Regions from separate parts of the Homo sapiens genome. Here regions 2, 3 and 4 are each linked to region 1. Evidence: promoter capture Hi-C in 16 types of primary human blood cells and fetal thymus (Javierre and others, 2016). All regions are on one chromosome and are shown on one strand. Each heading gives the region's core, a stretch centred on a gene start or on the middle of the fragment in contact. The rest is flanking DNA. Distances are from core to core; before and after follow the strand shown.

Region 1 (7,122 bases), core at 2,832-5,331:
AGTGCTGGGGTTACAGGCAAGAGCCACTGAGCCCAGCCCCCCTTTTTTTTTTGAGATGGAATCTTGCTCTGTCGCCCAGGCTGGAGTGCAGTGCAGAGTGATCTTGGCTCACTGCAACCTGAGGCAAAGAATTGCTGAGTAGCTGAGTAGCTGAGATTACAGGTGCCCGCCACCATACCCAGCTAATTTTTTTGTATTTTTAGGAGAGACAGGGTTTCACCATCTTGGCCAGGTTGGTCTTGAACTCCTGATCTCATGATCCACCCACCTTGACCTCCCAAAGCACTGGAATTACAGGCGTGAGCCACTGTGCCTGGCCTCCTTTTTTTTTAAATTTTATTTTAATTTATAGAGATGGGGTCTCACTACATTGCCCAGCCTGGTCTTGAAATCCTGAGCTCAAGCGATTCTCCTACCTTGGCCTCTCTAAATTCTGGGATTATAGGCATGAGCCACTGCAACCAGCCCTTTTTCTTTCTCTTTTTTAAAATTTTATTTTAATTTATAGAGATGGGGTGTCACTATGTGACCAGCGCAGGCTGGTCTTGAATGCCTGAACTCAAGCCATCTTCCCACCTCAGCCTCCCAAAGTGCTAGGATTATAGGCGTGAGCCACCTTGCTTGGCCTTATCTTTTTCAAGTCTTCCTTTCTTTTGTCTACAATTTTGTGGTTCAACACGTATCTCAGGGGTCACTACCTCTCAGAGGTTTTCCCTAAAATCCCTGCTGGAATTAATGGTCTCTGCCTCATTCTTTCTTTTCACATTGTATTGCAGTTTACTGGTTTCTTCCCTATCTTATTCATTCCCTCTATGTCTGTGTGTTCTTTGAGGATTTTTAAACGTTCTTGATTTTTAAAAATCTGTGTATTTCCTGGCCTAGCAGAGTACCTAATACCAGTTGGATTTATTTATTTACTTATATATTTTCTAGAGACAGGGACTCACTATGTTGCCCAGGCTGGTTTCGAACTCCTGGGCTCAAGCTCAGTTGGATTTAAAATTAACATTTGTTACCTCCAGGCGCAGTGGCTCACACCTGTAATCCCAGCACTTTGGGAGGCTGAGGCAGGCAGATCACGAGGTCAGGAGATCAAGACCATCCTGGCTAATACGGTGAAACCTCGTCTCTACTAAAACTACAAAAAATTAGCCGGGCGTGGTGGCACACGCCTGTAGCCCTAGCTACTTGGGAGGCTGAGGCAGGAGAGTCGCTTGAACCTGGGAGGCGGAGGTTGCAGTGAGCCCAGATAGTACCACTGTACTCCAGCCTGAGTGACAGAGCAAGACTCCATCTCAAATAAATAAATAAAGTTAACATTTGTTGATAGTAAATGGTATAGGTTATGGTAACTTGGCCTTCCCAATTTAGGACTACAAAAACAAATAAACACACACAAAAAAGGAGGAAAGCACACAAATCCTTTGTATATAATTTGCATACCACACACCTCTGCAGGACACTAGCCTTTTTATTTATTTATTTTTTTTTGAGATGGAGTTTTGCACTGTTGCCCAGACTGGAGTGCAGTGGTGCAATCTCAGCTCACTGCAACCTCCGCCTCCCGGGTTCAAGCGATTATCCTGCCTCAGCCTCCCAAATAGCTGGGATTATAGGTGTCTGCCACCATGCCTGGCTAATTTTTTGTATTTTTAGTAGAAATGGGGTTTCACCATGTTGGTCAGGCTGGTCTCGAACTCCTGACCTCAAGTGATCCGCCCGCCTCTGCCTCCCAAAGTGCTGAGATTACAGGCATTAGCCACTGCACCCTACCCTTTTTTTTTTTTTTTAAATATTTTTTTGAGACAGGGTGTTACTCTGTCACCCAGGCTAAAGTACAATGGCATGAACTTGGCTCACTGCAGCCTGGACATCCTGGGCTCAAGTGACTGATGGCGCCTCAGTCTCAGGAGTGGCTGGGACCACAGGCACCACACCCAGTAGTTTCAGCTACCAGGGAGGCTGGGGCAGGGGGATTGCTTGAGCCTGGGAGGTCAAGGCTACAGTGAACTGTGGTTGTGCCACTGCACTCCAGCCTGGGTGACAGAGTGAGACCCTGTCTCTCTCTCTTTCTTTTTGGCAGGGAGAGGATCTCACTATGTTGCCCAGGCTGGTTTCCAACTCCTGGTCTCAAGCCATCCTCCCGCCTCGGCCTCCAAGTGCTGAGAATACAGGTGTGAGCTACAGTGCCTGGCCCAAACCAGCCTCTTTCCACAGGAATTGATACTTGTTTATGCTGCTCAGTGATGTGATAGCTACTTGACCCAGGAAAATCCAGGTATGGTTCCATTATGAGGAATCCCACCCATTAAGACATCAACTCTAAGTGGCAGGTGAAGTGTCCAGGAGAGGATGTGGTATGCAAATTGTGTCAGAAGGATTTATCTATTCTGGAATCCATACTGGTTCCCAAACAAAAAAAATTGTCATTTCCAGTGTTGTACAGTTTTTTGGAATGATTGGGAGCTTAGATGGCCAGAATGCTCTAAGTTTGATGCCATTTGGTCATTTTCAGGACTTTTCCTGAGTTTTCAATTTTTCTTAGTTTAATAAACAGTTTAATAAACTCCTGCCCAATAAACAGTAGGCTATGTCTAATGTACTGTGAATTTTATTTTTTTTTTTTTGAGATGGAGTCTCATTCTGTCACCCAGGCTGGAGTGCAGTGGCACGATCTTGGCTTACTGCAATCTCTGCCTCCCGGGTTCAAGCGATTCTCCTGCCTCAGCCTCTCAAGTAGCTGGGATTACAGGCATGCACCACGACACCTGGCTAATTTTTTGTATTTTTAGTAGAGAGGGGGTTTCACCATGTTGGCCAGGTTGGTCTCGAACTCCTGACCTCAAGTGATCCGCCCGCCTTGGCCTCCCAAAGTGCTGGGATTACAGGCGTAAGCCCGGCCTGTACTGTGAATTTTTGAAATGAACCTAATTCCTACTTTACAGCAGAGCTTTTCTTTCTTTCTTTTTCTTTCTTTCTTTCCTTTCTTTCTTCCTTTCTCTCTCTCTTTCTTCTTTTTTTTTTTTCTGAGACAGGGTCTGGCTCTGTCATCCAGGCTGGAGTGCAGTGGCGTGATTTCGGCTCACTGCAACCTCCATCTTCTGGGTTCAAGTGGTTCTCATGCCTCAGCTTCCCGAGCAGCTGGGATTACAGGTGCCCACCACAACACCCATCGATTTTTTGTATTTTTAGTGGAGACAGGGTTTCACCATGTTGGTAAGGCTGATCTAGAACTCTTGACCTCAGGTGATCCACCCACCCCGGCCTCCCAAAGTACTGGGATTACAGGCTTGAGCCACCGCACCCGGCCTACAGCAGAGCTTTTCATATGAATTGTGTGGCTTAATTTTTTTTTCTTTGGAAGTTAAATTGCAAATGCTTTATCTGTGGGTTCAGCTTTTTGTATTCTTAATTCTTCAGCGGGCCGGGGGCAGGGGGCGGCGATAGAGGCGGCTCTTACAGGGTACTCATTCTTTGGCTCCGCCTTAGATCTGGCTAAGGGGATAGAAAACGACCCTGCCTCGCTTTGTTTAAAAACGCAGAGTTCTAGCATGGTGTTTCCCCCCCCCCTTCTCTTCTTAAGCTTACCAAGTTCCAGATACCGCCCAGATGAATTTTTTTTTTATCACAGCTGTCATTCTCATTTCTACAGGCATGAAAAGTGCGACTCAAGTTCAGTGTCTTGCCTCGGGTAGCTTGGGGATTCCCAGTCAGCTCCTCGCGCCTTCGTCGCCGCTCCCCTTCCACCCCGCGCCTTCGCCGGCCGTCCCCTGCTCCATCCAGGCCACGGGGGTGACGGTGGGGTCTGGGGCATTCAGGCCTGGCTGGGCATGAGGGCTTCAGGCCCAATTCCACGCCCGAACTCGTCCTGATTAGTCTGGCTTTTCTGGTCGCCCCAGCCCTGCGGTCGGGGAGAGCTGGAAACCACCGAGCTGACAGCCTAGAGCGTCGCTCCCCGGCCGCCGAGCGCTGACGCCGCGCCGGGGGCGGGGCAGCTGGAGGCGGCAGGGAGAGGAGCGAGCAGCCGGGAAGGGCTGGCCGGCTTCGCAGCGCCCCGCCGTGGCTGCGGCCGGAAGCGGTCTCGTTGGCCCTGCGGCGCTGGAGCCTTGACGCACGGAGCTCGAGAGCGAGAACGGGAGAGAAAGGGGTAGAAATGGCGGCTCCGCTCGGCTCCCGCTGAGGAGGGCGAAGCCGGCGGAGTGTCTGTGCTGCCGGTCTGCAGCACCGCCCCCGCTTCCCGCACGCCGCCTGCTCACGCCGACTTCCCTTCCTCTGCCCGGCTCTCTCTTGTGCTCGTCTGCGCTCCGCACGCTCCGGGCCGGCTCGTCTCTCATTGCCCGGCTCGGCTCCGCTGGCCCTGACTGACCGGCCGGCGGGCCGGCCTTGCTCGGCTCTCCCGGGCGCGGCGTGGACTCCGTCCCCCTGGCTGGACCATGGTGAACACCCGGAAGAGCTCTCTCCGCCTTCTCGGGTCCAAGTCTCCTGGTCCCGGGCCTGGGCCTGGGGCCGGAGCAGAGCCTGGGGCGACCGGAGGCAGCAGCCATTTCATCTCCTCTCGGACCCGCTCCTCCAAGACCCGCGCCGCCAGCTGCCCCGCCGCCAAAGCCGGGGGAAGCGGTGGCGCCGGCGTCACTCTGGATGAGGCCAGGGTAAGAGCGCGGCGTCCCGAGTCCGGAGGCTCGGAAGTGCCGGCCCTGCTGCCGGGGCTTTGTCTGGCCGGGTTGGGGGTAGGAAGCCTACAGTGGAGACCGCTCGGGCGGCTGGAGACAGGGTCTGCGGGCGCGGTGGAGGGTGGCACCCAGAGAAGGGCCGCGACGCTGGCCCCTTTGCTTTTCAAGCTGGCCCGGCTCTTTTGTGTGAAGAACAGCCCTTGAGTCCAGGGGAGAGGGCTTTGGGGGTCCCTTTCGGCGTCATTCGAACGATCTGCTGTCCGTGTCCTTGTCCTGCCCCAGAGGGGAATTCTAGCGGGGAAGCAAGAGCGAAGGGCCAGAGCCCCTGGGTGGAAGGGTTGGAGAAGTGAAAGTTTTCTGCGGTGTCAAACCCTTCTTGAAAGTGTGTCAGTTCCTGCCGCTGTCTAACTCCAGCTTACTCTCAGTTTGGGGGTGGTTCAAGTTGGTGAGGAAGTGAACAGAGAGCTCCAGTTGGCAGCCAGGCAGGGATGCTGAAAAAAGTTTGTAGCTGCTCTGACACCAACTTTAAAAACAAAATCAACGCTATCGCCTCTCCAGGCAGGAGAGATCAAACATGATATTATAGCTGGGGAACCAGCCAGCTAGCTCACCAAGGTGCTAGTAGGAACCAGAGCTTTCAGGTCACAGAAGGAGCACGTCGAAAGAAACAAGTGGAATGTTTCGGATAGTCAGCACCATCATGCCAAAACTGTGTGGTTTCTTGGGTGTCTACATTTTTGTTATGGGACTATATTACAAAAGGTGAATGAACACCATAGTCATGCAGTTGCAAAAATGACATTTAAAGACGCTGGTGATTGAATTAAAAAACTGATTGAAAGATCTTGAAATTTTATTACCTACATTATAAAGCTAAGCACAGATATTTATTGTTTTAAAGGAATTGACACGTTTGTTTTACTATGAGATTGTTTCTGAATTCAGAGAAGAGTGTATTGCTTCTGTCTAAAAGAGGTTGACTTGCTAAGTAATTTGGCTGGAAAAAGCTGTTCATTTAAAATGCTCCTTTAATTCCACACCATTTTGTGGTTCTTATTGGGGGAAAGCAATATTTTATGTTCTAGGGGTCTACAAGATCGCGGTTTGTGTGTGCTTTTCTTTGTGTCTTACACTGTTTTGACACTAACAGAATGGATCTAGGCAGAGACAGGAATATTTTACCATACTACTCTGAAATATTTTTATTATATCTTTGAAAATCGTTTTGGCTTTTCTTTGATAAAATTTTGGGCATTATAACGTCCTATTTAATAGACTATTTTGGGGGCTTACAGCTCTCTTAGGTTGAAATAAGGTTAAATCTGAAAGTTGTGCAAACTGTTGAGAATAAGTACTTTGAAGACGAGGCTTTCGGTGGAAACTATTCCAAACATGTTCAAGCTTCTTGACCTACTGAGGCTATCACATATTTTAAAATAAAACTCAATTTAAGAAAAGATCTTTTCTGTACATTTAAGGACAAAGAAAATATTTAGGGTGTAAGCATTTAATCGTATCATGCTATGTGAATGCCTAGTCTGTTAGAGCAGTGTCTAACTCATCTGAAGCAATTAGCTCATCTTCACTCATCAGTTTGTGGTCCCATTTTTGAATTCATGGATATCATGCTGTCCTCACCCCCCGAGGAATAAGGTGAGGTAATTTGTCAAGCAGCTGTTATAGAGATGTTAAAAGGCTAGGAATCAATAATCTAATGAGGAAATGAACATTTGGTAGCTTTTAAATTGCTAAAAGAATGAAAGATATGAGAGCTCTTTGTAGAAGGGTACTAATGAAACTTTGTTTCAAAGATCCTTTTAAAATGTTTTAAAGCACCATAAATAACAGGGTACTAAAGATTTACTTTGAAATATTTGTTTTTCAGTCTTAAGAAGATTTATGTTCGGCTCTAGGAGATGATGTAGTCATCTAATTGCTTTCTCTGAAAGGTTTTTTTAGAGACGTAACTACTCTTACATAGTGATTGGACCTTTAGAAGAGGATAAATTATAATTCTGAATTTATTAAGTTTATGGACTATATATTTATGAAGCAGGTTGTATATTTCTGGTTAGCTCTTCTCCAGTTTTGTAGGAATTTAGCACTCCTGGTTCACCCTTTCTGGAGTACTTAAAGACACCCTCTATGTCTGTGGGGTCTGTAATAAGCATTTGCCAGTGTCTGTAAAGTCTCATTTGGTGCAAAATGGGGTTGCCCGTGTTGTTGCTTTCGCAGACCCTTATTTTTGTAGAAAGAAATGTATTCCTGTTTGTAACATAATATTCCTGTTTGTAATTGAGGAGTTTCTCCTTTTTCTGCTTTTGTGCCATGTTTGTTTGTTTGTTTTTTTTTGAGACGGAGTCTCGCTGTAGCCCAGGCTGGAGTGCAGTGGCGCGATCTCGGCTCACTGCAGGCTCCGCCCCCCGGGGTTCACGCCATTCTCCTGCCTCAG
Region 2 (7,122 bases), core at 2,165-4,664, 2.0 Mb before region 1:
AGGATATCTAGTGATCCTAGCCTGGAAATTACCACTAACGGTAATAGTGGCCAAAATACCACTGCAGAGCTGGCCTTTTGAAGACTCTGCAACTCGTATCACTGACATCACTGATCCTGAATATCACTAGTGTCCGATTCAATGTCTAGGGCAGAAATAAATGATTGGTGGAGCCTAGGGCATGTTCCTATGCCCTACCCAAAACGGAGGGTAGGTATTTTCAATTTCTATAGTGGGTGGGAAATTTCCAAATATGGGAAGGGGGCTTGGATACTTGTAGCCAAAAAAAGAAAAAAAAAAAGGCTATCTTACTCCCCCATTTTTTTCATCAGAAGGAACCCTATTATACATGTGATTCTATACATTGCCTTTTTCACTTTAATTAATATTCCTTAGATCTCTTTCCACAACTGAGTAGCAATCCTTGTATACAAGGATTATTTATAATAGCACTGAAATGTTAACTATAGGAGACTAGATAAAATTATTGTACATAATCCAAACAATGGAATGCTATGTAACTATTTAAAATTATGCTATATGTTAGAGTTTGAGGGTGTCAACTTGCCCAAGTTTCAGAAAAAATGGAAAGATATCTACAGGAGACAAGCAGATGGAGATAAAAATATCACATTCATAATAAAACTGTTGAAGATAAAACAGCTTCTGTGTGAGGGCCAAATGGGCTTGCTAGCGCTTCCTGTCCCCAACTTTGCCAAGTCTAGACCTGATGATATCTTATCTGAGTGAAAAGTTTGGTTCTACAGAGGAGACATACTTAACGAGGGGCCATTCATGCTCAACCAAGTTGTGAGGCTGAGGCTAGGTTTTCCTTAGCTTCTTCCCTTCTCTCTCTTTTTTTTTTTTTTTTGAATCAGGGTTTCACTCTATTGCCCAGGCTAGAGTGGGGTGGCGTGATCTCGGCTCACCACAACCTCCACCTCCCAGGTTCCAGTGATTCTCCCACCTCAGCCTCCTAAGTATCTGGGACTACTGCCTTGAGCCACCACGCCCGGCTAATTTTTGTATTTTTTGGTAGAGACCGTGTTTCACCATGTTGGCCAGGCTGGTCTCGAACTCCTGACTTCAAGTGATCTGCCCACCTTGGCCTCCCAAAGTGCTGAGATTACAGGCATGAGACACTGCGCCTGGCCAGCTTCTTCCCTTCTCTATGATGCTTCCCTCACACCGTTACAGGTTTCTTCTGAGAGCACTCCAATATATAACTTGCAGAAGGAGTCAAGGCTCAGTCTCTGCTTCCACAGACAAAACGAATATCTGTAGAATTTTTACAATGAGCAGTTTGGTAAAGATGAAAAAAAAGTTAATTTTATTGTGAAAATAAAAATCTCATGTGGATTCCAAGATAAAGCATTTGAAGGGGTTGGGGCTGAATATCTGTAGTCTAAAAATCCTTGATTTCACTTTCTGCAGTACACTAAGCCAAAGTTTGTCAAAGCAGGTCATTCACTTTACCACAAAAGAGTCAGACCTTGATTTGTAGATGTAAAGCATTGTTACACTTAGTAGGGCAGAGGAGTGGGTGGAAGTTGTGAAAGTAGAGATGGTGAGTGTAGGTTACACATTCAAGATATTTATGGGCAAGAAAGAGAGGAAAAATAATTTGATATGGTAGGGTGGTAGGGTAAAGAGACTTCCTTAAGCTGGAAGTGTCTTGAATATGCTTGTAGAAGGAGGGGGAGGGGTATCAGAACTAGAAAATAATGAAAAAAGTGGAGTAACATTCCAAGGCAGATGAGAAGGGATAGTGTCCTGTATACGGTATATTAGAGGAGGGATTAGGCTATGCTAAGGAGGAGGAGGCAGTTAGAATGCGCGGACTTATGGGTAAATTTAGGGGTTGAAGACAAGGTGAGACTGCAACTGGGGGGCCAATAATTTTTACATGATATATGAAGCAATGTCATTAGTTAAATGAAGAGGCGAAAGTAGAGGTGGGGTCTTCAGGGGAGTGGCAAATGCTGATGGAAGTAACCAGAGATACATCAAAGGATGACTAAGTTGATTATAGAAACTGTATCTGTAAAGCTAAGAAACTGTGACTCAATCAAGAGGATATCTTAGGGAGGATATCTTAGTAGGGTAGTGGGTGGAGTTTTAAGAAGATAGATTTGGCATTCCCTGTAGGATGGGCTTGAGTAGGGTGAGAAAAGAAACAGACTATCTAAGGAAATCCAGAAGGAGGGTGGGGATGATGAGAGAGATGCAAATACACATAACAAATTCAATCAATAGACATGGGGACAAAATACTTTTTGGGGAATTATACTTTTATAATAATAATAAACTATCTGTATCTGTGGAAGATTAAGAAGTAGGAACCACAACATCACAATCCCTACCCTTGAAATTCAAACCTGGGGATAGAGCTCCAGAAATGCAAAGTAAGGACCCTAGTAAGGTCTGAAAACCAGTTGGGGCTCCAGGACCAAACAACAGGACTGGATGATAAGCTGTACTCAGCTCAACAGCCAGGGATGGAGAAGACCTTTTTTTCTCTTCTCTCTTTCTCTTTCTTTCTCTCTGTCTCTCTTTCTTTTTTGAGACAGAGTCTTGCTCTGTTGCCCAGGCTGGAGTGTAATGGCGCGATCTCTGGGCTCACTGCAACCTCTGCCTCCCAGGTTCAAGCGATTCTCCTGCCTCAGCCTCCCAAGTAGCTGGGATTACAGGCGCATGCCACCAGGCCCAGCTAATTTTTGTATTTTTAGTAGAGATGGGGTTTCTCCATGTTGGCCAGGCTTGTCTTGAACTCTTGGCCTCAAGTGATCTGACCACCTCAGCCTCCCAAAATGCTGGGATTACAGGCGTGAGCCACCGCACCTGGCGAGAAGGCCTTCTTAGACTACAGACATAAGCTTTGGAGGGAGGTGGTACATACTACCTGTGTAATGCATAAGGCTATGAATTACCAAAGACATTTGGGAAAATATATCCATATCAATTGCTGAAATAGGCTGTTTGATCCATGACTGAACGGAAATATAAGGAAGTATCTAGATACTTCTAGATGGCCTCTCAAACTCCCTTTAATATCTTTTTCTCTTTTTTTTTTGCACAACAGATCCTTTTTGAAAAATGGAGGAAAAGTTATGAATCCTCTTAAAAAATTCACATATAACACACAAAATATAGTTCATAATTTTAGGGAGTCCATGAATTTCTGAAACGCATCCATAAACTTTAAGTATTGCTCTCACCTGTCTTTCCTCCCAAGAGGCAATCCAATCCTCAGTCCTATTTCACACTATAGTAAGTTTACTGGATTGTTTGGAAGCAGCTTCTGGAAGCAGGTGGATTTGGGAGATCAGCAGTTGTTACTACATTCTTCTTACTTTGCAAGGTATCAAGGTGTAGATGATGTAAGAGAAGATGCCACATTCTGGATCTTTCAGAAAGCTGTTACGGATACTACAAATAATGGTCTCTGACCACAGAAATAGGTGAATCATTCAGCAAATATTTACTGGGCGCCTGATATGTACAGGCACTATGCTAGGGACTGAGCTCACCGAAATAAAGAAGACACCATTTCTGTCATTGATGAGTAGCTTCACATGTAAAAGCATGGATGCAGTTACTGGTGGCCTTAAAAACAAAGTCACCTAAGTTTGAGGCATTCTGGGGAGATGGAAAGGGCTCTGAGCTGGCAATTTGATTTTTGGTTTCTCTACATCCCAGACTTATGAGCTTGGCAAGTCACTCAATCTCAGTTGCTTCGCCTATCGAATGGGGTTAATAGGCAGACGAGAATTGTTGCCTATCTTCAAAAAGATAACCTCTGTAAAAATGCAAATAAATGAGAAAACACAAACGCAGGGCTGATCTAAAGTGATAGTTGGCAGAGCCACCCACTGAGGGAAGAGTTCAGCTCCCCAGGTCTACACAGCCTGTGCAGCGCCTCGCAAGAGGCGGGATCCGCTCAGTAAGCTTTCCCGGATGGCACAGGTTCCGCTTCCGCAGGCAGATATTCGCTGTAGGTGTGAGCGCCAGGCGTCAGACTACAGCTACTGCCGGGGCCTCCTTGGCGCGCATGCTCCTGCGGAGAGGCGGAGACCGGAAGGGCGGGGGCGTGGCGAGGTACCGCAGACCGCCGGCTCGATAGCTCAGCGGCCGGGCTTGGGAGGCGGGGGCGCGCCCGCGCTCGTTCGCGCGGCCGGCTGCGTACAGTAGTGACGGCCGCGCGGGAGCGGTCACATGACCGTAGCGGCAGCCTGTACAGTAAGAACCCAATATGGCAGCGGCGGTAGCAGTGGCAACGGCAGCAAGAGGACCGGCCGCCCCATAGACCCCCCCGCGCACCACCCCCGCCGCTTCCTCTGCTTGGGTGCCCCCCCGGTCTGACTTCCCTTTTCTCCCACCTTTCCCGGCACCGCGGGAAAAGCAGCGCAGGGCAGAGCAGGCAGGGAGGGCGGCCGGAGCCCGGACACGGGAGCCTCCCAGTCAGTTCAAGACCCGACATGAGGGAAAAGGGACGTAGGAAGAAGGGCAGGACCTGGGCGGAGGCCGCCAAGACGGTAAGGGGGAGGGAGCGAAGGGGAAGGCCGGGAGGATTTTGTTCCCTTGTCGCCCGCCAGTCGCAGGGAAAGGGAGGTCACTGGCCCAGGGACCCGGCTGAAGGGGCACAAAACCGCGCGGAGAGGGCGGCGGTTAGTGTCGGGGTTGCGATCCCTGTGGGAATGGAGGCGCCCGGCGGAACGTGATAGCCGCGGGGCCGTGGCGTCCCTCGGCGTCTGCGGCGAGTCCTCTCAGTGTTTTGAGGCTGTCTTTTGGGGTCGAGCCGATATCACCTCCGCTCTGTGGTAGCCCTCGCCCCGGCACGGGGAAGTCTGTGGTGCTTGCACGGTAACCGGTTCTTCTCCCTTGTGCGGCTGGAGAGCCCCCATTGGATGCAGATAGGAGAAGGCTTGTGCGTGCATCCAGCCCCGGAAAGGAGAGGGGAGCGCTGGAGCTGGATAGAATTTACCCGTTACAGCGGACGTGCCTGTGACCCCGGGCCCCCTGTTTGTCTGGCTCCCGGAGCAGACGAGAGATCACGAGGCTTTTGTTTTTGTTTGGTGTTGGAGCCGAAAGTGCAGGAGGTGTTTAGAAACGAAGTAACAGGTGGGACTTGTAGAATTTTTTTTTTTCCTGTTTCCGTAGAGACCTACTCTGAACAAGGCAGCAATGCATGGTGGGACGTGTAGTTTACCCGGCCTTCACGTTACCCTAGCCAAAGGGATGGTGCCCTAATGAAGTTGTAATTAGTGGGCAAAACAATTTTCCCCCTAATTGTGTTATGACGAAATTTAGAGGTAGATTTTAAAAAGTGGAATATTGAGGATTAGTGAGAACTTTTACCATATTTTAAGAAGAAAAAATTAAAAGCATGTTGTATGCAGAAATGAAATGGCAGGAGATAGTGAAGTTCATACATCGTTGAGGGTGCAGCAGAAAAGTAATAGGGCATTAAACGGCAGCATTTTAATAGTGGAAAGTGAGAGGTGTTCACCCCTTTAATGGTGATTAATGCCGGTAATACTTCGACAACGTAGCCCTTCTTAGTGAACCCTTATTAGATGCCATATGGTTTATTTTTTAATGAGTTTTTTAAATATAAAAGTAATGTTCACTGTGGGGAAATTTGGAAAATTATAAAAAAGTATAAAGAAGAACATTTAAAAAAAATCACATTTATTTCACCGCTCGGCTGTATCTGCTAACATTTGGTATATTACCGTCTAGTCTCTTTATTTCCCCAAATCTAGGTCATACTGTTTATTCAGTCTTGTGCATTTGTTTCTAAACTTTGTGCATTTGTTTTGTAAACTTTATGCATTAGGAGGTTGATGAGTTTTCAATTTGTATCTCTCTTAGTTGGAAATGTAAAAAAGTTAAGAAATAATAGCACATTTTACTTACTGGGTGTTTTCACTTACAATATGTCTTTGTATATCTTCCTGTGCTAGTAGTTTCCCTCTAAAAGATAAGACTCCTATACTTTTTTTTGAAGGTGTAGAGGTTGCATCCCCACAGAGGGCTGTTTTACTCTCAGTATACCTCAAGACCTCTTTCTGTTAATAAAAGAAGCATGATAAATTTTAATTATAGGTAAGCAGACCTGGACCCTAATTTATGCTAATTAATTTTAAGTTCCTAGGGTCTTTAAAATTGTTTTTTTAATTAAAAATATTTTGTAGAGACAGGGTCTTTCTATGTTGCCCAGGCTAGGCTAGTCTTGAACTCCTGGGCTGAAGCAGTCCTCCTGCCGTTGGCCTCTCAAAGCACTAATATTACACAAGTTTCTAGAATCTTAGGAGTGTTTTTTGAATTATGATCCCTTTGATAAAATAGTCATTGGGAGATTGCGACAAATAGGAAAAATTAGTCTGCATCTACTTAGCTTTTCCTATGTTAGTATATTTGCTCATTTCATGCCCTAGCTAGCTATGTGAAAAATAGTATTTAAAAGATGGAAAGACTACTTTGATCAGTAGAGTTCCTGAGGGTACCAGTATATTAGTAGCTTGGTATTTTTCTTTGATTCTGGCAAATACATGAAGCCCCAGTCTCAGTGAAAATGTGTTTTAGAAAGAGAATGATGACACTAAAGTTTTTCTAGTAGCCAAAATCTAGAAAACACTCTTAATTTTGGGGGGTTATTTTATTACCTATAAGTGAGGGGATTAAACTAAATCTCGGTGTTCAAAATATTTCTGTTTTTGGGATAAATAGATGAAAATAAAAGAAGGACCGGGCAAAGGTACATTTGTAATATTTCAGACTGTAGAATAATGAAATCAGAAAATTAGTGAGTTGACAAATGAAAGTAACTTTGACCTAAATAAGAATGTTAGTATTTAGATCCAGAGGAATAGGAAAAGAAGTTTTAAGGCTTAAACTTATTTCTTAGGCATTAGGATGTCAAGTGTTCGAGGAACAGTTTCATCAAGGAAGCAGGTGTCTGTTTCTTATTTCATGTGTTTTTGATACCTCCATTGTAGAGCTATCATGTTTTAGAGAGTACTATTAAAATAAGGTTGTTTTCCTGACCAATAATATACCAATAGATATATTCAACACATTAAATGTAGATATGTGATACTGGGATGATACGGGGTGTGT
Region 3 (7,122 bases), core at 1,812-4,311, 1.3 Mb before region 1:
TCAGAGTAGAGAGACTCGCATGGTAAATGTCCTGGTGGGATGACAGCAACATCATCTACCCTCATCCTGCCGGAACTGGATTTTATGACAGAGCATGCCACAGAGCACTGAACTTTGAGTAAAACGTCAGGCATGAGCTCCGGGCGTTGCTGCTCTTTGGAGAGGTATCATGATGGGCTAGTGTCTCGTCTCAATTCTTTGAGGCTGGAAAGTCACATTAACATACTTATGATCATGACTCTTCAATGACCCAGGAGAATGATGCACCCCAGAATGTTAGATTTACCAATTGATAACAGGACATGTCCTTGCCACACAAATCATAATGCTTGTCCTGCTGTTTTCTGGCAACTTACTGGTATCAGAGTCATTGGAAAATGTAATTAAAATTGGAAGTTTGCTTGATGAATACAGGATCAGGGCAGAGAGGTGTCCTTCAGAGGTATTTTTGTCGGGCTTAGGAGGCCTATGGGATCACTGTTGTCTGCCCACCAAACAGGAACTGTGCTCTCATTCTCAGGTCACTCTCTCCATTGGACCACACTGGATACTTCCTTTCCAGCACCTCTTTTAGGCTCTTGACATCCAGCATATTTTCTTCTCATCCAGGAGTTCCTCCTTTCAACATACTTTTATAACAAATCCAAGAACATGGCTTATTTTACATGGTGCTGCTATTTGAGTTTGGCTATCTTTAACTCAAACAAAAGACCTATCTGGTAAACTACCAGGGAGGTTTACTTTGGAAGCTCAAGAGCATGTGTGACCTGAGGATCCTTGAAGATTGCCCCATTTTAGTAAGGGGATTTTTCCTTTTACTAAAATCACCCCTGCTCTAGATCTTGGGGTCTCTTCTGCTTTGGGGTCTGACTGTGCATTGACCACAAAGAAGACACATCTCTGTTTAAGCGACTCAGTCTAGAAAAGGCAGTGTTTCCTGTCTGCATAGTTACAGGAGAGGGAAGAAAGATGCTCTGGGTTGTTAAGGGGACACCTTTGAGCCTAGGCTTCCTTTTGCTTGTTGGGAAGTTGTGTGGAAGAGGTAGGATTTGACTTTAATGTTAAAGGATGAGAATAAGGAAGTTTGACGGCCGGAGGGAACAGCTACCTAATATGTGGCCAAGAGAAAGTGAACAGTTCTGGCCAGTTCTGACACCTTGAGTCCTTGCTGCACGCACGGCATCATTGCAGTCTTATGTCCCAAGACCACAGAATGTGGAGTCTAAGGTGTTTAGCCGCATTATAATGGAAGAGCGGGTATCGTACATGAGACAGTGTCTGCAAAAGGCCACCAAGCCAGAACCAGAAACTTCTTTTGAGAGGAGGCCTGAAGTAAGTTCTCAGGCCCGTTGACCGGCATGGATGCAGAAGAGGTATCAGTGAGAGAAGCAGCGAAGCAAGTCATGCTGCATTCCCTAAAGGTTGGGAGCAGGCAAGAGGGACAAATTCTGGGCTTCTCACTTCTGCTTGGGGAGCCCCTGGAAATGTGTACCAGGCAAATACCTTAGTTGGGTTGAAAGATGGGTTGGAACAGAAGAGGGCCTGTGTTTTTGTTTGTTTGCTTGTTTTTCGAATAGCTTCTTTTCCTAGCTGTATGGATTCTGGGTCTCAGGGTTGGGGGGGAGTCTGTACCCAAGTCTTCTAGGTAGAAGGCTCTCTGGTTTGGGGTCCTTGCTCTTCAGGGTTTGCTTGCTCTGATGGCCCTCAGGGGGAGGGGGGGCTCCCTCACTGCACATCTCGTGACTTCATTATACCAGCACCTGTATGTCCCAGGTGACTGTGGCTGGGAGCCAGGCACCTAGAGAATTGTCTCATTGTCATTAGGAGATGGTGGCGTTCCATGGCCAAAGAGGGCTGATGTCATCACTCGTTTTGCAGATGAGACAACAGATTTCTTGGGGGTTAAGTGACTTGTTTAAGGTCATGGTGGTGGAAACAGAACTGAAGTCCAGATCTTTTTTTTTTTTTTTTTTGAGACGGAGTCTCGCTCTGTTGCCCAGGCTGGAGTGCAGTGGCATGATCTCGGCTCACTGCAACATCCGCCTCCTAAGTTGAAGCGATTCTCTTGCCTCAGCCTCCCAAGTAGCTGGGATTACTGGCGCACGCCACCACGCCTGGCTAATTTTTGTATTTTTAGTAGAGACAAGGTTTCACCATGTTAGTCAGGCCGGTCTCAAACTCCTGACCTCATGATCCGCCTGCCTCAGCCTTCCAAAGTGCTGGGATTATAGGCGTGAGCCACCGCGCTCGGCCAAGTCCAGATCTTCTAACAAGTGCCGCTGCCCAAATAGCCCTCTGCTGTGGGGTGCATTTTCCTCCATTTCCTCAGTTCTTCCTTCTAATTCATCTTGCCAACGGCAACTAGGCTGATTTTTCCAAAATACTCATTCATCTTGTCAGAAAACCTGCGGTTATTCTTCCCTGCTACAGAATATACCCAAGGACGCACCTGAAGGCTTGCCATTACCTTGCCCTGTCGTGTACTGGGAGGGTGGAGGTGGGCGAGGGTCTCCTCCCTCCCCAGCCCGGCAGCTCTTGCTCATCCTACCCATCTCACCTCATTCCAAGTCCGATCCAGCCTCCAGGCCCAGTCGGCTCACCTGGAACTGACCTCTGACCTCTTTTGTCATCCATGCCGCCCATTTTTTTCTACTTGGTATTTGTGGCATAGTTACCTTTACATATGTTTGTTTTACAGTGATCCTTTCATATTTCTCCAAGTCTAGTGGAATCTTCAACCCCTCGAGGGCAGAGCCAACAGGGTCTATTTCTTTATCTGATCCTACAGCCAACGTAATGGAGGGCTGTGGGTGGGGACTGCGTCTGCCTTGGGGGTAGGTGCCTTTGTTCAGGAGGAGGAAGCTTGAAATGGCGGAGGCTGCACCTGGAGGCCGCACCTGGAGGCCCCAGGAGAGGAGTCAGGTCTTCTCGATCTGCAGATGTTTGAGCCTGGGAATGAAGGAATTGCTGAACTTTCTGAAGGAGCGCCCTCGCCGCGACCAACCTTGCAAACAGGAAAATGAGAAATCCAGGGAAGGCCCAGAGTGACGCAGGGGCCCTGGGACTCGAAGCCTGACCTCCTCACGCCGCGCTTTTTGAGGCCCCCCCGCTTCTCTATTCACCTGTAGTGTGGAGGCGGGAGACCCCCCAAACAATCCCCGATCTGGAGCGCTCCCAATGCCTGCGCGCGCCTGCTGTCACTCTCCGTCTGTGTGCTGAGTTTTCCTACAGCTTCCTGGGCCTCCTATCTGTAAGCTTTTTCTTTTTTTTTTTTTGGTTGTGCTTCAGAGAAACTCACTTTTCACAACTTTCTCCCGGCTCTCCCAGGCCGTCCGAAAGCTCCGGCTTGCTTTCGCCCGGACCCCCGGCTCCCTCCGGGCAGGCGGCTCGGGAGCAGCCCCTTCCCTCCCCTCCCGGCCCCCCGGCCCCGCGCTAATCTCTTCCAGAGCTGGGGGAGGGGCCAGGCGGTCTTCCCGAAGGCGGGGCGCTCCCTGCAGCCCGGCCTGGGCGGGCCCTGGGAACGGGCGGGGAACGGCCTCGCCCCCCGGCCCCGCGCCCCTCGGACCGGAGAAGAGGGGCTGGCCCAGCGCCAGCGTCGGAGCGCCGGCCCCCTCCCCGGGCCGCTCGCAGCCAACCAGGCCCTCCAGCGGGGCCCACGTGACCTGGAGTCCTAGACAAAGAAAATGTTCCCTCCCTCCCCCCCGCCGCCCCCCTCCCCTCCCAGTGGCCCCCTCCGCCCCCAGCCCCATCGCCCCCTTCCCCTCCCCCAAGACGGGCAGCTACTTCCAGAGCTTCAGGGCCGCGGCTCACACCTGAGCGCGACTGCAGAGGGGCTGCACCTGGCCTTATGGGTAGGTTCCTGGACGGAGCCCCGGGGAGACCGGGGGCGGGGAGGCGGCAGGGCCGGTGGGAGGATCTCCGCAGCCCTCCGGGTTTGAAAAGAGTGAAGTATGCCTCCCCGGCCCGCAGCAGCCGCGGCGTCCCGGCCTGGCCCGAGTTCTGGAGATGCTGACTTAGTGCTGGCCCGCCGCCTTCCTGCCCACGAGCCCCAAGGCCCCACTCCTCGAGGGCTCCAGTGGCACCTGGCGCCCTCGGGGGACAGGAAGAGCAGCCGGCCGGGAGCCCGGGCAGTGGTAACTGCAGGCTGGGGCACGCGGAGCTGGTGGCCCAGGAGTTGGGTTGGAGGCAGCTTCAGCTGAGCTGGCAGATGGGTGCCTGGCACTTCCCTGGTGACCTGCGTTTCTGGCTGGGGGACCACGCGGTCCTCAGGGCCCTGCCAGCTTGCGGCCTCTTAAGAGGGACAGCTTCCTCTCCTGCGAGTTCCTGGAAGCCTCCAGGCAGGCCGCCAGAAAGAAGTGGTGGGGGGCGGGAGAGCACGGTGCGACCCTGACAGGGGGCCGGCCTGTGACACCAGGGTAGCCCAAGGCCGCATGGGCTTGGGGGCGGTGGCGCTCAGACCTCTGACCTTTGGAATGGGAAGCGCTGCAGTCGCAGGGGGAGGTGGAGGCGGGACAACTGCCTGAGGAGATGGGACTGGACCGGAGGCAGTAGTCACCGGAGTTCCCGGTGGCTTTCCCAGTCTGGACGGACTCCAGGCCCAGGGGCTTCCGTGAGCCAGCAGGGAGTGGGGAATAGTGTGGTGTCTCTTGAATGCCGCCTGGTTTCTCCGCCCCCCTGGGGGTGAGCAGCCCGCAGCCCAAATGCGAGAGCCTCGAGTTCACCCCTGTTTCTCTTATTGTTTGCCTGGGGAGGAAGGCAGGAGTGCAGAGGGAAAGGGGTGCTTTCCCTACGCCCCAGACAGGCCTAGTCTAGTGAGGCCCCTCCCCCACCCAGCTCCGGCTGCCCCTTCCCCTTTCGTCAGGCCCCCTGCTGCTCACCCACCCCCCCCCCCGCTTCTTCCTTCCCCCACCCCACTGCCCCAGTCCTGATGGAGGCCCCTTCCTCCTCCGCCAGCCCTTACCGGGCCGGGTGCGTGTTCTGCACCAAGTGGGCTGGGGATGCTGAACAGCTCGCAGCGCGGCATCTGACAAGCTGGGGGAAGTTGTGGGGGAAGAAGAATGTTCAGGAACTCGCTGTGAAGGGGCTGAGAGACAAAGGGGCCGTGGGGGAGTGCTGAGGGTGGTGTCAGGCACGACTCCTAGACCTGGGGAGCCAGAGGAGGAGCCCAGCCCACCTGCTGCTGCCGCTGCCAGGAACTGATAGCGGGTCCTTTCCCCTTCCCGCCCACTGCTACCTGCACACCTCGTACTGGCTCAGGGGCCTCGCCACGCCTGGAAACGGGGTCTTTGGATCATCCGAGGCATCACCCTAGGTCAGCCACCCATGCCTGAAGCTTGAGAAGGCGTGGTGGGCGAGGAGCAGCGGCGTGGTGTGGGCTCCTCTGCGAGGGTAGCTGACGCAGCTGAGGATCCCAGCAAGGGAGGCACCCTCCCCCATAGCGGGGTCCACACTTCAGTGCACCTTCTCGTAGGGGAGGAGGCGATGGCTAATTGATAGTAGGAAGGGGAGGGCAGAGTTCTGGCCAGGTGAGAGTGGGGCTAGGGAGCGATGAGCAATTACTCCACATTCTTCCACCCCCGCAGTCCGATCCGTGAGCTCATTCCGCCATCCATGAGCTCATTTTCCCAGCTGTTTGGGGGTTGGGGGCAAAGGATGCATTATCCTGTTTTAGAATTTGTTGAGTCAGAGGAAGAACTAGGACTTAACATCTTCAGTGTTTTTCGGAATCGCCATAAGAAACAGATTGGTCTGTGGCTTGGAGGCAAAGACTTGAAGACTCAGTGAAATTAAATGAATCTGTAAGACAATACATTGGACCACTGAGCTTCAAACAAAGGTTCTTAACCTGGGACCCTTGGATCTGGGGGGTCCATTGACAGGCTTTGGGAGAGTCCTGGGAATCATTGGTCCATATATACACCAGATTTTTAAACAGGTCAGAAAAGCTTTCCAGAAATCCTTCCGTTCAGGTGCCTTTTTATGTTGGAGCAACTCCTAGAAAGGACTGCTCCAAAGTCAGCTGCTGGTTGTGAGGCTCCGACAGGAATGTAGAGGCTGCAACTTCAGATTAGAGCTCTTCTTCATACTCCAGGTTGCTTGCTCATCCTCTTTACCCTTGAGGATGGGTTTGCATTCGCAGCTCTAGGCCCATGGGGGAGCTCTTTTGAAAGGCATGTAGAAAATGGGGTTTTCTCCCCTCTAAATCTGGTATGGTGGAAATGGGTGCAAAGCCTTGAAGTCAGAGGGCCGTGTTTCCTAGATTCAGTAAAAGGCTAATGGTTCTCAGAGCTAAGTATCAAGGATTTCATTCTCCTTTGTAGGGATCCTGGAGCGGGTTGTGAGAAGGAATGGGCGCGTGGATCGTAGCCTGAAAGACGAGTGTGATACGGTGAAAGGATGGAGGCTGTGCAATGGGAGAATAACTGGGGTTTGGCTTATTAATTTGTTGGTGGGATGGCAGAGAGCACGCCTGGTCTATAGTGCCTGCTCAGTAAATAACTGAATGAATACATGTATTTATGGATCTGAAGGGTGCACATAGAAGGGGTCGAATCTGGTAACAATACACACTGGGTGTGATCCATAAGAACTCCAGCATGGCGTCTGAGCATGGGAACAGACAGGCTCTTGGGGAGCTTCCTATGGTGTTTGAGCATGTGCTGGGGGGAGATGGGCTCTTTAAACCCAGAGCAGTGATTTCTTCGTCAGCAGACATCACAAAACTAGAATTGTGGCCTGGAAACCAGGAATAGGAAGGATTGATTGCCCAGGGGAATTGTGGAGAAGAAGAGAGGGTCCCCCTTGCTTTTTAAATTTTTGGTGACAGGGTCTTGCTATGTTGCCCAGGCTGGTCTTGAACTCCTGGGCTCAAGTGATCCTCCCTGCTCAGTAACTGGGATTACAGGCACATGCCTGGCTGAAGATCCTAGTCTTGATTAAGAAGATAGGAGAGGGTGGAACCAATATCTGTGTCTAAACAATAGTGCCTGATTAATATTTGGATAGAATTAACATCTCCATAGGTAGGGGGAGGGATAGCATTAGGAGATATACGGTATAATGCTAAATGACAAGTTAATGGGTGCAGCACACCAACATGGCACATGAATACATATGTAACAA
Region 4 (7,122 bases), core at 3,376-5,875, 1.0 Mb before region 1:
GTTACTCTTAGCTCCAAGAGGCCACTCTTAGGTCCTTGCTAAGTATCCCCTTCCATCCTGGAGAACCTTCCTCCTATTGAATGCTTCTCACATTTTTAATATCTTTTGCCAGGAAAAGCCCTATCCTACTTAAGGACTCATCTGATTGGGTCAGGCCCATGGAGGATAATATCTTCAGCGTAAAAACAACTGATCTGGGAACTTAATTACCAAAATCCCTTTGTAGCAGCACCCAAATTCATGTTTGATTAACTAACTGGGAAAAGGTATGTGTGTACCAGGGGCCAGGAATCTTAGAGGCCATCTTAGAATTCGGCTTACCACAGTATGCCAGTTAGATTTCATTTATGTCTGTATTTTAAGAGCTTCACCTTCTAAAGTACATAATAAGATATGGATAGTTATAGTATAACTATATTTATAGTTTGCCCCAAAATAATCTGGGGTATAGATGAAACAAGATTGATCCACGTTGATATTGCTGAAGGTGGAAAATGAGTGTTCATTACTTTATTCTCCCTACTTTTGCTAATGTATGAATTTTGGGCCAGGCACCATTGCTCATGCCTGTAATCCCAGCACTCTGGGAGGCCAAGGCAGGAGGGTCACTTGAGCTCAGGAGTTTGAGACCAGCCTGGGAAAGATGGCGAAGCCCCGTCTCTGAAAAAAAAATAAAAAATAAATTTTGTCAGATAAATTATTCCAGAGCATAGAAACATTTTTTAAAACTGTCAACTATGTGTGTGTTGGTGGGATTTTGAGGGACAAGGTCTTGGTCTGTCACCCAGGCTGGAGTGCAGCAGTGAGATCATAGTTCACTGTAACCTTGAACTCCTGGGCTCAAGTGATTCTCCTGCCTGAGTCTTTATTTTTATAGAGACAAGGTCTCACTATGTTGCCAGGGCTGGTCTTGATCTCCCGGCCTCAACAGATCCTCCCACTTCCACTTATGAAAGTGCTGGGATTACAGACATGAGCCACAGCACCTAGCCTATGATGCAAGTATAACATTAGTATCTAAACAAGGCAAAGGTAGCATAAAATTACTTTAGTATTACTTAATAATATTACTTACTTCCAACATTACTTAAGAATATTAATGCAAAAATTCTCAAAACGTTACCTTACAGAATTTGGCAATATATAATAAAAGTAAATTTACATTTACCTTTGACCCAGTAATTCCATTTTTTAAAGAATTTTACCTTGAAGACATACCCATAATAGTACAAAAATACATAAATGCCCCTAAATATATTAACTGAAAAAAAATGTATATACACACAATGGGATACTGTGCTGTGTAGCTATAAAAAAGGAGTATGATCTTTTTTTACATAATAGTGAAATAGCATGTGGTCCTTTCCAGAATATATTAAGTGTAAAAGCAAATTTCAAAATTGTGCACACACATACAATGTTACTTTTTTGTGTCATAAAGAGAAATGAGAAAATATACATGTAACTGTCTATTTTCTATAAAAAGAAACACAGGAAGGAGTAAATCACAGTCTATGTGATTGGTTGCCCACAGCAGGTAGGTGGGAAGTGGTGAAAAGGATTGGAATGAAGGGTGAAAGTGACACTCATGTGGGTATACTGATTGTATTGCTTTAACTTTGAATCTGTTAATGTTTTACATACCCAAAAACGTTAATAAAGTCACTAATCATGAGGGGCAAAAAACTGAAGCTACAATACTAAAGAAACAAATGAGCTTAATTGTATTTCGAATGCAAACCATAACCACACTGAAGAAGGAAAAAAAAGGATTAACCCAACTAACGTTTGAACACAATACTTATACTATATGACAAACTGTATTTGTCAGTTTTGGACAAAAAGTCATAAACAAATACTGAACTCTAGTTCAAAGGGCTTTTGTTTTTTAAAATGGTATGGGTTAGCAACTCTGAAACTACTTCCTATGTAGTGTAGGATTGAGCAAATGAGTAAATATACTGAGGATAAAAGGAGCCAAGTTTCTCACTGTTGAAGCAGGAAGTCATAATTATGGAAAGGGGGAAGACTAGAACAAATCCTGTTATGCTAAAATGCATTGGTATTATCCATATAAACTATACTTTAATAAATGGATTCAGATGCATGTATATATGTACATATATCTCTTTTTTTGGCTCAATCAACTGAAAGGTCCAAAAGCAAAGACACTCTAGTACTACTGAGAACACCTAGCACCCAGATCTTGGTTTCTAAATACCATCCTCCATTAAAAGGATCCTTGGAAGCAGGGCTTGTTGCTGTGCTAAGAAAGTAAGAAAGTGACTGGGCATGGTGGCTCAAGCCTGTAATCCTAGCACTTTGGGAGGCTGAGGCGGGTGGATTGCCTGAGCTCAGGAGTTCGAGACCAGCCTGGGAAACCCCATCTCTACTAAAATACAAAAAATTAGCCAAGCCTGGCGGCATGCGCCTGTAATCCCAGCTACTCAGGAGGCTGAAGCAGGAGAATTGCTAGAACCTGGGATGCGGAGGTTGCAGTGAGCCGAGATTGAGCCACTGCACTCCAGCCTGGGCAGCAGAGCGAGACACTGTCTCTAAAAAAAATTTAAAAAAAAAAAAGTAAGAAAGTGCTAAACAAACACAGAAACAACAACAACAACAAAGGTGAAGACATCAAAAGGACATACGAGCCAACCTGAGTATCAAAATAAATAATAATATTCATGGAGTAAAATAAGCATATACAAGGCCATACTGATACAAATGAATGAATGAGAAAGGAAAGCTTTTCCTTATGGTAGAATACCAAGTAATAAATATAAATGGAATGATGGAGTTGGAAAATCAGCATTTTGCGTCCATCATAGTAATAATCTCTTCAGCCATAAGTAATCACTGGATTCTAAAAATTTGTGGGTGAAAGTTCAGTGAAGAAAGGATAGCCATATAATCTCCAAGTATCCCTTTAAAAACTACTTATTACAAAGGGAAAAGTCACTTTACTGTAGATCAGCTTCATGAACCCCACCTTAACCAATGAACTAAAGTAAGCATCATTAATAAATGGAAAAAATTGGCATCCCAACTGATATGCTGCCCAAAAAGGACATAGTATCTTTGTTTGTTTAGATGGAGTCTTGCTCTGTCACCCAGGCTAGAGTGCAGTGGCATGATCTCGGCTCACCGTAACCTCTGCCTCCCAGGTTCAAGCAATTCTTGTGCCTCAGCCTCCCGAGTAGCTGGGACTACAGACACGTGCAACCATGCTCAGCTAATTTTTTTGTACTTTTGGTAGAGACACGGCTTCACCATGTCGGCCAGGCTGCTCTCGAACTCCTGACCTCAGGTAATCTGCTCACCTTGGCCTCCCAAAGTGCTGGGATTACAGGTATGAGCCACCGCACCTGGCCCATAACATCTTTTCTGTGGTATTCCAGCCAAATATAACATAACTGACTCTAATTTCAAGAATACACAAACAAACACAAATTGAGGAATATTCTAAAAATAACCGTCATTTTGAAAGAAAAAGAAAAGCTGAGGAACCATTCCAGCTTAAAGACTAAAGATATGTAACTAAATGATCCTAGATTAGATCCTAGACCAGTTGACCAAGTCAAACACAGCTATAAAGAATATTATTGGGACAAATGGTGAAATTTGAGTGTTAACTGTGAATTAGATAAAAGTTTCCCAAATTTTCTTTGTTCACAGTGCTTTCAGCATCTCAGGGTTTTGTTTTGTTTTGTTTTGTTTTGAGAGGGAGTCTCGCTCTGTCACCCAGGCTGGAGTGCAGTGGTGCTATCTCGGCTCACTGCAACCTCCGCCTTCCAGGTTCAAGGTATCCTCCTGCCTCAGCCTCCCGAGTAGCTGGGATTACAGGCGCCTACCACCACATCCAGCTAATTTTTTGTATTTTTTAGTAGTGACGAGGTTTCACTGTGTTAGCCAGAATGGTCTCGATCTCCTGACCTCGTGATCCGCCCGCCTCGGCCTCCCAGAGTGCTGGGATTACAGGCGTGAGCCACTGCGCCCGGCCCAGTGTACTCACTTTTCATCACAACCAACTGGAAAGCCTAGATGCCCCAAGACATGACATAGCCAAGGAATTTGGCGCCATCTATTGTTGAAACTGTAAACAACTTCAAGCTAGTAGTTTTGTACAGTCATTTAGATTTCATTTTGTTTGCCTTGAAAATTTAGAATGCAAGCTATTCCACAGATATCCCCCCGTGGATTTACTGTGGGGATGTGAGGTACCTCAGTGTACAGTTTGATTCAAACCACAGGATTTTATAATAGTGCTGTATAAATGCTGCATTTTCTGATTTTGATAAATCACTGTTGCCATGTAGAAGAAAGTCCTTCTGAGGAAACACACATTATTTATGGATAAAGAAACAAGCTGGCTGGGCACATTGGCTCATGCCTATAATCTCAGCACTTTGGGAGGCTGAGGCAGGAGGACTGCTTGAGCCCAGGAGTTCAAAACCAGCCTGGGCAACACAGTGAGACTCCTTCTCTAAAAAAAAAGAAATACATATATAGGTAAGTATGACATATATTCATATATGTATATATACACACTATATATATATGTGTATATATTATATATGTCTTTATATATATTTTTGAGCAATTCTCCTGCCTCAGCCTCCCAAGTCACTGGGATTACAGGTGCCTGCCACCACATCTGGCTAATTTTTGTATTTTTAGTACAGATGGGGTTTCACCATGTTGGCAAGGCTGGTCTCGAACTCCTAACCTCAAGTGATCTACCCGTCTTGGCATCCCAAAGTGCTGGGATTATAGGTGTGAGCCACCCAGCTGGGCCTGTGTTTATATCTATCTATGTATATCTATCTATTAAAATGTCTGCAAATAAACCTCAAACTACTCAGAAACATTTGAGTATACATGTACATATAGATAGCACAAGTGATAGAAAAAATGGGACAAAATGTTAACAACTGATGAATTTGGATAAAGGGTAGACAAGATTTTTTGGTCTCATTCTTGAAATTTTCTGTGTAAAATTATTTCAAAACAGTTTTGAAAGATGAAATGCAATACTACATTTTAAGGTATATATTCATATATAGTAAAACAATTTTAAATGCCTGGAAATTAAAGCAGCATTCAGATTGTTGCAACTGTTTGTAGAGAGGGAAGAGGGATGTATTGGGAAAGGCTACGCACAGTATCAGTGATGTTTTCTTGTTTCATTTATTTATTTAGAGACAGGGTCCAACTTTGTTGCCCAGGCTGGAGTGCAGTGGCACGACCACAGCTCACTGTGGCCTCAACCTCCCAGGCTCAGGTGATTCTCCAACCTCAGCCTCCCGCGTGGCTGGGACTACAGGCTTGGGCTACCACAACGGCTTTTTTTTTCGTAGAGACAGGGTTCTGCCATGTTGCCCAGGCTGATCTCAAACTCCTGGGCTCAAATGATCCACTGGCCTTGGCCTCCCAAGGTGCTGGGATTATGGGGTGGGCTACCATGCCCAGTGGTGATATTTTATTTCTTAAATTGGGTGGGGGATACATGGCTATTCATTCCATTATACTTTATACCTTTAAGTATGTCCTAAATATTTCATAATTTACTTTCTAAAAATACACATTAAAAAGATGTAGGATTTTTCTTAACACATAAAAAAGTATGAGCAAATGAGAGCATGTGGCTGCTGTTTGCTGGGAGACTACTACGTACTTCCTGTGCATTATCTCCTACAATCCTTATCACCACCTCATGCCTACAACATATGCCAAGATTAAGTGTATCGGGCTGGCTCCAGAATCCATGCTCACACTATACCTCCCAGGTCCATACTATGGAAAAAGCAGCTAACTCGTGCTGATTTTTATTTTTTTATATTCAAAGAGTGGGGGAAAAAAAACAACTTTCTTGCTCTTTCGATTCCAAACTAATTTAATACACACAGTAGAAAATGTAGCTATATACAATAAAGTGTCAAAAGCATCAATATGGGCCGGACGCTGTGGCTCATGCCTGTAATCCCAACACTTTGGGAGGCAAAGGCAGGAGGGTCACCTGAGGTCAGGAGTTCGAGACCAGCCTGGCCAATATGGTGAAACCCCGTCTCTACTAAAAATACAAAAATTATCTGCGTATACCGGTGGGTGCCTGTAATCCCAGCTACTCGGGTGGCTGAGGCAGGTGAATTGCTTGAACCCGGGACACAGGGGTTGCAGTGAGCAGAGATTGTGCCACTGCACTCTAGCCTGGGCAACAAGAGGGAAACTCTGTCTCAAAAACAAAAACAAAAACAAAAAAAACCCCATCAATATGAAAAAAATAGTAATCAATTTAAATCTGTGGCATGTTTTACTGCTTAGTCTCAACAGCACCATACTTAATCAATCATAACAGCTGAAGATTTGACATTTTATAATTATTCTTCCACAATACCAGTTACCCTATTACAGGGCCAAAGGTGAACTGTCGAAGAAATTACATGTTTAGTAATTTGATTTATTAAATCATACTGAGAAGTTAGCATGTGGATTCTTTTAAGCTTTAAAACTATCCAAATTCTAACCAGGACTTATATTTCATATTTGTAAATAATTTTAGAAGCTTCAGTGAATTAAGTTATATTATTTGATTATCAAAACAATCCAGAATAAACTTGTCTTAAAAAAAACTTAATGTTTAAAAAACACATTTTAAAATTAAAATGTGGAAAATCTGACTTTACTGTGAAATGTTGAGCCTTTGCTCATTGCCTTCCTGTAATGCACTTCCCTTAAGATGTTTAAAGTTAGGTGAGAAAAGAAGCAATGCTACTTTTGTCTTTGTAATATACAGGGAAATTGGCAGCCATTTTTTTTCAGGGCACTATAAATAATCATTGTCAAGTTCTATTTATCTTCTGTAACTGAAGATATTCACTGAAAAAAAATTACCGTTCCTGTCAGACTGACTTTTATTCAAGCACTGTCACATTGTCAGCTAAAGGGAAGGGGAGAGCAGACGTCGAGGTCACGTTCGAAGCGAACAGCGGGGAGCTGAGGAAACTGACGTCCACAGCTCCAGCCTGGCTTAGCGTTAACACCTGCAGTAGACCAAGCCTTTCTCCCACAGAGGAGTCAACAAATCCATCAGAGATCTGTAATAGGAGGGCCAAGACTAAACAC

Evidence for each region. The method cuts DNA at HindIII sites, captures the fragments that hold promoters and counts their contacts. A CHiCAGO score of 5 or more calls a contact.
Region 2: a fragment that was not itself captured here is called in contact with the fragment with the promoter of ATAD2B in region 1 in 3 of 17 cell types (non-activated CD4 T cells, naive B cells and total B cells); the score reaches 6.4 in non-activated CD4 T cells.
Region 3: a contact is called between a fragment that was not itself captured here and the fragment with the promoter of ATAD2B in region 1, in 1 of 17 cell types (fetal thymus). The highest score is 5.4, in fetal thymus.
Region 4: a contact is called between a fragment that was not itself captured here and the fragment with the promoter of ATAD2B in region 1, in 4 of 17 cell types (non-activated CD4 T cells, fetal thymus, monocytes and 1 more). The highest score is 6.6, in non-activated CD4 T cells.

What each region holds. Positions count from the first base shown.
Region 1 is chr2:23,924,082-23,931,203 of GRCh38, reverse strand. ATAD2B (ATPase family AAA domain containing 2B) reads left to right here and starts at 4,081. Exons shown (of 28, transcript NM_017552.4): 1 at 4,081-4,649. The coding sequence starts at 4,434. It also overlaps a transcript of UBXN2A not described here. RefSeq lists enhancers at 3,555-3,644, 3,231-4,147, 4,905-4,954, 4,148-5,066, 5,165-5,414 and silencers at 3,815-4,144, 4,345-4,424. The HindIII fragment of the contact is 2,488 bases long and covers 3,586-6,073 here.
Region 2 is chr2:25,875,579-25,882,700 of GRCh38, reverse strand. ASXL2 (ASXL transcriptional regulator 2) reads left to right here and starts at 4,214. Exons shown (of 13, transcript NM_018263.6): 1 at 4,214-4,535. The coding sequence starts at 4,479. RefSeq lists a silencer at 4,035-4,194 and an enhancer at 5,105-5,154. The HindIII fragment of the contact is 1,072 bases long and covers 2,879-3,950 here.
Region 3 is chr2:25,248,923-25,256,044 of GRCh38, reverse strand. The region is part of intron 6 of DNMT3A (DNA methyltransferase 3 alpha); the gene reads left to right. Among named protein-coding and RNA genes, the nearest start is that of LINC01381, 48 kb to the right of the region's middle. RefSeq lists an enhancer at 2,106-2,640 and silencers at 3,447-3,596, 3,767-3,986, 4,717-4,786. The HindIII fragment of the contact is 393 bases long and covers 2,865-3,257 here.
Region 4 is chr2:24,972,598-24,979,719 of GRCh38, reverse strand. All of the region lies in intron 1 of DNAJC27-AS1 (DNAJC27 antisense RNA 1), which reads right to left. Among named protein-coding and RNA genes, the nearest start is that of DNAJC27-AS1, 4.0 kb to the right of the region's middle. RefSeq lists an enhancer at 6,716-7,122. The HindIII fragment of the contact is 3,754 bases long and covers 2,749-6,502 here.